Regions from separate parts of the Homo sapiens genome. Here all the other regions are linked to region 3. The links are contacts of gene promoters, found by promoter capture Hi-C in blood cells and fetal thymus (Javierre and others, 2016). All regions are on one chromosome and are shown on one strand. Each heading gives the region's core, a stretch centred on a gene start or on the middle of the fragment in contact. The rest is flanking DNA. Distances are from core to core; before and after follow the strand shown. Region 1 has its middle 140 kb from the start of LINC02667. Region 2 has its middle 100 kb from the start of LINC02667. Region 3 holds the start of EBF3 (EBF transcription factor 3).

What was found. The method cuts DNA at HindIII sites, captures the fragments that hold promoters and counts their contacts. A CHiCAGO score of 5 or more calls a contact.
Region 1: a contact is called between a fragment that was not itself captured here and the fragment with the promoter of EBF3 in region 3, in 1 of 17 cell types (endothelial precursors). The highest score is 6.1, in endothelial precursors.
Region 2: a contact is called between a fragment that was not itself captured here and the fragment with the promoter of EBF3 in region 3, in 5 of 17 cell types (naive CD8 T cells, megakaryocytes, naive CD4 T cells and 2 more). The highest score is 8.8, in naive CD8 T cells.

Annotation. Positions count from the first base shown.
Region 1 is chr10:129,049,039-129,051,738 of GRCh38, reverse strand. No RefSeq gene overlaps it. Among named protein-coding and RNA genes, the nearest start is that of LINC02667, 140 kb to the right of the region's middle. The HindIII fragment of the contact is 3,922 bases long and covers 1-2,700 here.
Region 2 is chr10:129,012,591-129,015,290 of GRCh38, reverse strand. No RefSeq gene overlaps it. Among named protein-coding and RNA genes, the nearest start is that of LINC02667, 100 kb to the right of the region's middle. The HindIII fragment of the contact is 1,527 bases long and covers 553-2,079 here.
Region 3 is chr10:129,962,857-129,965,556 of GRCh38, reverse strand. EBF3 (EBF transcription factor 3) reads left to right here and starts at 1,283. Exons shown (of 17, transcript NM_001375380.1): 1 at 1,283-1,922; 2 at 2,034-2,190; 3 at 2,552-2,615. The coding sequence starts at 1,789. RefSeq lists an enhancer at 185-1,156. The HindIII fragment of the contact is 12,336 bases long and covers 606-2,700 here.

The DNA.
Region 1 (2,700 bases), core at 114-2,613, 910 kb after region 3:
TCATTTTTATGGCTGCACAGTATTCCACAATGTATATGTACCATATTTTCTTATCCAATTTATCACTGATGGACATTGGGGTTGATTCCATGTCTTTGGAAAGTGTGTTTTCAATGAGTGTTTGAATGAAAGGATGTATGGTCCACCTGTTTATGACTCATTCTTGGAGCCACCAGGAACCTCTGAGTGCTGGGGCAGCCCATTTCTTTCTCCACCACCATCCAGTTAGAAAGAACTCATGAAACACCATTCTGACCATGCCTGCTGGCTGGGCAGTCCACCTTACTCATGAGCTTCCTCCACTCCCTTCGCCAGTCCCAGTTCAACTCTTGGAGCTGCCACCTCTCCCCACGTGACAGTGACAGCTCTCTGGGTGTTGGGGCCAGCTACCTCTCCTCACAGGGCTGGGTACTGGGGGCAGCTACCCTCCTCACAGGGACCTCTGCACTGAGGCTGTCATGCTCATACAAGGAAGGAACTGCAAGGACCCAGGCCAGATCCATCTCCTGATGGCTGGGCAGTTGGAACTCAGGTGTGACCCATCAGTGCAGCTGACTTCAAACTTGAAAGGCTTTGGAGAGGATGGGCTGGGGAGACAGGATCAGATCAGGTAGGGAGCAGGTGAGGGGATGGACAGCGAACAACCTTGAAAACAGGGTTAATTCCTGAGGCTGAGAATCATGGCTGCTGCATAGTCTCCGAAATAAGTAGGCAGCAGCCTGGACTCCAGGTCCTGATGAGGACGTGGGCCTGGGAGTTACTGTAGGGGCTCTGCTCGCCAACTGGCTCGGACAGAGGGAGCCACCATTCTCTGGGAGAACCTGGACATTTTACAGACAGGGTGATGGAGACTTTACCCAGCTGGGAAGCCAGGCAGCACCAGCTTCCTGCTCCCCATCACCCAACAGGCCAAGACCTATTCATCTCCTCACATGTAGATGGCTGGGCCTAAGGCCACAGCAATGCCCCCATCACTTGAAGCGCCCTGTTTAAGGTCTAGTGCTTCTCCCTGAACAATTTCTATAAGAGCAATGGCCTGACCCCTTCCTGTGGCCGGTCCCTACCTGGTGGAACTGCTCCAGGAGGTCCGGTCTGTGTCAGCCTCCTCCCCGGTAACAGCAGCCAGTGGAGGGACCTGTGACCCACCAGGGCAGGCACTGAGATGGCCCCAGTCAGGGGAGGTCCTGGCCCTGCTCTGCCTGCATCCTAGCCCTGTCTTCATGGCCAATTGGCGTTGGTGGGACCCCATGGAAGCCAGTGGCCAGCCAGGCTCTACCCCACAGGAGCCCTGGTGAGGGCTGACTCCCTGGGCTCAGGTCACACCTGATGCTTTTTTGCAAAGAAGAACCAAGGTTTTCAGTGTTCAGGCTAGAGCTGCACCAATAATCCATGTATTTTATGCACATGGAAATTTAGCATCATGGATTGAAAGAGGACTCCAATCTGAGGGTTGGAATGACCCACAGAAACCTTTTGCAAATGTGGCCCAGAGAGGTCGAGTGACCTGCACAGATCATGACAGCCCCAGCTGGAATGGCTCACAGCTCACGGCTCACGGCTCAGTTTAGTCCATGTCTGACAGAGCAAAGGGGCTGGAGCATGGGCCAGGAGGGACACCTCTGGGTTCAAATCCCAGCCCTGGATTCGCCAGGTGTTCAGATTCGGCAACTCACAGAAGCATTCTAGTGTGGAGTGTGCTCGTCTGTAAAGTGGGACGATGCTGGGATGATTCTGGTGCTGCTTTCTTGGGGTTGTTTTGAGGGTCACATGAGATAATTAAGATCAGAGGCTTTGAGCAGGGTGCAGTGCATGGCAAGTGCTCAGTCCTTTGCTCTTTTTGACACTCTCTGGCATCAGGTCTATGTCCTAAGAGAAATGGTTGTCGGATAATGGGCATTGTTATTTTTGGTCTACCTTGTAATCTTTTTTTAACCTGACACCCTTCGTCTTTGGCAGCACAGAACCGTGTTGGATAATGTCTCCACTGCCCCGCCCCATGCTCATTCATAACTCACAGCTGGACCCCCATCTGCCCCTACAGCACGGTGGGAAGAGCAAGGACTGGGGCCAGATGGTGGGTTTCATTGCAGCCCTTCACCAGCTGTGTGACCGCAGGCAAGTCACACACTCTCTGTGCCTCGATCCTCATTTAAAAATGAAGATTAGAATAATAACTTCCTTACAGATTGTTATGAAGGTGGATAAAGTCATGCAAATAATGGCCTCAGAATGTCCTTGGTACATGTTAAGCACTCTGACAGTGTTTTATAAAATCAGACATCATCAGTGTTTGCCAGGAACTGGATGGGAGGGAGAGAGAGCAAAGGGGAATTTTAGGGCCAGAAAACTCTCCTGCATGTGTTACTGTGGTGGTGGATTCATGACATTATGATTTGTCAAAATCCACAGAATATACAGCACAGGCAGCAAACCCTAATGTAAACTGTGGACTTGGTTAATAATAATGAATCAGCATTGGCTCATCAATTGTAACAAATATACCAGCCAATGCAAGGTCCTCATCTTCAGGGAACCTCTGGGGGTACATGGACGGGCAGGCTGAGAGGGCATATGGTAACCCTCTGTCCCCTCTGCTTCATTGTTCTGTTACCCTAAAACTGCTCCCCAAACAAAGCCTTTTAGTTAAAAATAATGAGTTACCCACATATCACCTTGTTCCATGATTTGACCTGGGTGTTC
Region 2 (2,700 bases), core at 67-2,566, 950 kb after region 3:
TCAAATGGTAATTCTAGTGCTAGATCCTTGAGGAATTGCCACACTGTCTTCCACAATGGTTGAACTAGTCTACACTCCCAGCAACAGTGTAAAAGCATTCCTATTTCTCCACATCCTCTCCAGCATCTATTCCTTCCTGACTTTTTAATGATTGCCAATCTAACTGGTGTGAGATGGTATCTCATTGTGGTTTTGATTTGCATTTCTCTGATGACCAGTGATGATGAGCATTTTTTCATGTGTCTGTTGGCTGCATAGGTGTCTTCTTTTGAGAAGTATCTGTTCATATCCTTTACACACTTTTTGATGAGCTTGTTTGTTTTTTTCTTGTATATTTGTTTGAGTTCTTTGTAGATTCTGGATATTAGCCCTTTGTCAGATGGGTAGATTGCAAAAATTTTTTCCCATTCTGTAGGTTGCCTGTTCACTCTGATGGTAGTTTCTTTTGCTGTGCAGAAGCTCCTTAGTTTAATTAGATCCCATTTGTCTACTTTGGCTTTTGTTGCCATTGCTTTTGGTGTTTGAGTCATGAAGTCTTTGTTGCTTCAAGCTTTGTCTTTCCTTACGGAGTACCATGTATTCCTGTTTTGGATGTTTTAACTGTTATCCAGATGAGCGGTAAGTTTTATCTTCTTGAAGTCATTTTTCAATCAGGATCCCAAATCCATGGACATTATATTTAATGTAACGTATCTTCTTACCAGCATTGACTCTGCTCCATTATTCATTAGAAAGCATGTTTCAGTAAGTGAAGTTGAGGAGTGAGTGGTTGGTGAGGTGGTGGAGACAGGACAGAAGACTTGAGTTTCCTTGTTTACAGGAGAAAAGAGAGAAGGCAGGAGTAGAAAGAGGGGGTGGACTGAGGAAGGAGTTTTTTAGGACCAGGAAGATGTGACCACAATGATGAGAGAGAAGTGCTAACAGTCTAGAAAGACAATTCTAAAAGACTAGGGGAAATTACAAAAATCTAGGCTGCTGCTACACTTGGGGAGACTTGCATAGAATATTTACAAGTAACTGTGAACTTGAACAATTGTAGGCAGCATACTGAGATGCAATTAACAGAAGAAAGATAAGATGAAAGGGCTTGGATTCTGTAGGCCCACCCTCAAAGATGACCAAATAGAGAAATGGCAATTAAAATAATACAGTTAGGTTACATGTATATTCATGTATGTGTGTGTGTGTGTGTGTGTATACAAACATGTATACAAGTAAGTGAATATTTACTATATCATAATATATTCTAATTTTACAAATAATACTGATTATGATAAATACTTAATCCTCACTTTAACTGTCTCTGTTGATCAACCAGCTGATATCTGTTCTGGGGTGACTGGCTTGGGGAGCAGGACAGTCTACTAAACTACTGTAGGTTGTAGAAGGCAATAGGGGGAGGGCTACTTGAGGGAATGGCTTTTTCCTCCAAGGGGCTGGGGCAGAGGACACAGATTGGAGGGTCCATGGCACCCTCAATGGCTGGACTCAGAAAGGAGGCCATGGTAGTTAGTTGCTTTATGGTTATCTGGGGACTTTGGCTGACTCCTAAGCCAGAAGATTCAGGCCTTTTGCATGGCCCAGCCTGGTCACCCACTATCCTTCAAGGAGCTCAGTCTCTGAACTCCTGGGACCTGCATCCAGCCAGCTGACTTCTCACTGCCACCATCATGGCCCAGGCCAAGTGGAAGGTGGGCCGCCATCAGCAGGGTTGAATCTCCCTGCAGTTCAGGTCTGCAAACCTCTTGCTTCACTGTGAGTCAGGTAAATCAGGTAAACACCTTTTGAATGTATATTTAGGCACAACCCATTTTTACCGCACTGAAGGTAGCTTTAGAAAGAGATTTGCCGCTTCATGGCTATCTTTTTAAATTGTAAGTATTTAGGCATCATGCTGGATGTTCGTAGTCCATTCTCAATTTATTTATTTGTTAAATTGATGGAAAAACCTGTATATTGACTGCATGACTCTGTCTTTCTGTGTGTTTGGAATGAACAAAAGGCCTTAGACCAGCTGTAGTTGAAAATACTGTTTTAAAAAAAAATAATCCCCTGTGGGAGATTAACTTCAAGAAAGCTTTCTCTGATATTTGGAAAATATCCTAGAGAGTTCACACTAGGAACTAGTATAAATGTTTATCTTAAATGTCACAACATTAAATATCATTGAATGATAGATGTGTAAGATTCATAGTATGTCAATATGACACTAAACATCAAAATAACATTTTTCATTTTTCTCTTTTGCTTTCTATCAAACCCATTTTAAATAGAGGAAGCCACAAAGGCCAATGTGCCTCATTTTATTCTCTTCCAGAATACTGTTTCCAAACTACCTATGGGGGCAGTGCCACTGCCAGCACAGGCCGACCCTGTTGACTACCCCCATGGTCTCTGTCTGCTGCACTGGTGTGGAGGGAGCATCTTGAACTTGTCTCCTTTGGAAGAGTCCTGCACCCTCTTCACTGGGGTCCTTCTGTTGATTCAGGGCTTTAGGGGTGTGTCTAAAGGAACCGATGTAGCTGGGGTCATGTTCCCAGATGGCCACACTTGGCTGAATGTAGACGTCATCACTTTGATTGAGGGCAACTTAGGAATGAAGTAAAGAGTAAGTAGCCACCCAGACAGGGACCTGGCAGTCTGAACACCAGCTCATGACATAAAAAGTAAAGCCTAGCCCATCACTGTGTTCACTGGGTT
Region 3 (2,700 bases), core at 34-2,533:
GGCGGGAGGAGGCTGCCCTGCAACACACTTGCGCCCTGCAATCTTTTTTTTTTTTTTCTTTTAATCAAAAGGGCCTGATTTCTCTTGGCAGGGAAGTGCCTAGGACAGTTCCTGGTCGTCCCCTGGGTCTCTGCTCCGTGTCGCGCAGACGTCCTTTGGGCGGGCCGCGCTCCTGGGCGCGGAGTCCCGGCTACAGGAGCTGGGCCGCGGGGCCCACAGTCTGCCCGCGCCCGGCTGCCCTCCCGATTCCTAGAAACCAGGTCGGGAAGCCGCGCGCCGCGCGCTCACCCGGGTCCGGCGGCTCCGAGGGCCGGGCCACAGCGCCCGCGGCGTCCGCTTGGTTTTTGGAGCAGTTGGCTCCAGGGCGGTCTGGCCACCGCGCAGGTCGCGCAGCCAGACACCCGGCTCCGGGTCGCCGGAGAGGCCGGGCGCGCTTCCCGTCGGCCCGGAGAGACCGGAGCCTTCTTTGTCACTCGCTGTGCGTAAGAACAGGCCAGGGGCCGGGGTCTGCCGCGGCCACCGGGGGAGAGGGAGCATCTGGCAGACCCTGCCTCCGACGTGATTCCCTGCCCGGCACTCGGCGGCCTCCGCCGGGGTAGGAAGCTTGGGGTACCTGGCGGGGCTCAGACCGGGACCGGCCGGCCCTGCAGCAGCCTTAGGTCTGCTTAGAAATCAGGCTGAGCTGCGCGTCCAGCCTTGGCCGGGGAGCCCTGGGCACCCCTCCTCCCAGTCCGTTGCCCGCTCCTCCCTCCGGCGCCCTCCCTGCGGTCGACCTGCCTCTTCCCACTTCTCCTTCGGGCGGCCCCAGGACAAGCTGCAGCCCCTTGCATTTATTGCATGCATCTGGGCAACTTGGGGCGCCTCAGCATTTTACAGCCCCCCGCCCCGCCCATCGTGTTCGACTGTGTGGCAGGTTTTGCAGGGAGGTATTAAGGGGCCAAACTGCAATTGTGCAGTGGCTGCGTTTGTTTCTTTTCAAGATTTATTTGGGCGAGTAGTAACTTCCTTGGCCGCGGCTGGACGCGAGGAGCCGCGGTGCGTGGCGGGGGGCGGCGGCGGCGCTCGGTGGCGCTCGGCGGCGGCGGGGCTCGCGGGGCTCGCGGGGCTCGGGCCGGCTCGCGGCGCCGTCAGGCAGTCAGTCGGCGAGCGCGGCGGCGGCGGCGGCGAGGGGCGCGGCGAGGGGCGGCCGCTCCCATATATGGCGCAGGCACCGCCCCCCGACGTCACCCTCTGACAGCGCCGCTCCCGGGGGCTTCGAGTTTTGGCTCCCGGGAAAGGGTCCATTCCTCGGGGAGAGAGGGCTGAGTTTTGTGCGCCTCCGTCCGCTGCGCGCGCCGCTCCAGGCCCCGCCGCGCCCCGCCTGCGCCCGGGACTGCGCCGCAGCACTCACTGCCCCGTTTATTTGTCTTTGGAGCAGGCGGGCCGCGCCAGAAGCGGGCGATCCCGCAGTGTCCTGCAGCCGCGGACGCCGCCTGGCTAGGATGACACCACGTTGAGCGCGCCTGCAAACAACAACAACAACAAGCGCCGCCGCGGCCACCGCGTCCTGCTCCTTCGAAGCGCCGCCGCCGCCGGTGGAGCCGCCTCCGCGCCCCTGGCCGTCCGGAGCGCCCGGCCGCTGGTGTATGTCGCGCCTGCCCGGGACGGGCTGAAGCCGGCGGCGGGGCCGGACCGCAGGCGCCGAGCAGGGCGAGGGCGGCCAGGGCAGCCGCCTGCCGCCAAGCCCCGAGCGCCGCTGCTCGAGGAAACGCTTTCGGCCGGGAGCTGCGGCCGCCGCCAGCAGTTTTCATGTTTGGGATTCAGGAGAATATTCCGCGCGGGGGGACGACCATGAAGGAGGAGCCGCTGGGCAGCGGCATGAACCCGGTGCGCTCGTGGATGCACACGGCGGGCGTGGTGGACGCCAACACGGCCGCCCAGAGGTACGTACCGGCCGCCCCCGCGCGCCCTGGCCCCGGCCCCGGCCCGGCCCGGCCCCCTCCGCCGGCCGGCGCCGCGCTCCTCACCGGGCCGCTGTCTCTTTCCTCCCGCAGCGGCGTGGGGCTGGCGCGGGCGCACTTCGAGAAGCAGCCGCCTTCCAACCTCCGGAAATCCAATTTCTTCCACTTCGTGCTGGCGCTCTACGATAGGCAGGGGCAGCCGGTGGAGATTGAAAGGACCGCTTTTGTGGACTTTGTGGAGAAAGAGAAAGTAAGTGCAAACACACGATCACACCCTCTCTCTTTCTAGAAGCGGGAGGCAGGCGGTGCCGGTGCGCGGGGGTTCGAGTGCCCCCCTAGGCGGCGGGCTCGGCTCCGCCAGGCCACCCCGCCGCCGCCACGTGCGGCCGCCCGGGACCGCCGAGGGCTGGGCAACTTCTCTGCGCCCTCGGACTTACTCGGGGCGAGGAGAACGCTGGGCTTCCAGCAGGAAAGTGACATCACCGCGCTGCTTCGAGCTAGGAATCCTGCCATGTGTGAGGCCGAGAGCCTCGGTCGCGGAGGGGGACCGAGCGTGGTGGCCGCGCCTGACACCGATCGCACTAAATGCAATTATTTATCGTTACTTTCAGGAGCCAAACAACGAGAAAACCAACAACGGCATCCACTATAAACTCCAGTTATTGTACAGCAACGGTAAGTGCCTGCTGCGTGCTCGCCGCCCCTGCAGCGGCTGGCTCTCCTTTTCTGCGCTGGTGAAAGGACATAAAGATTTGAGATT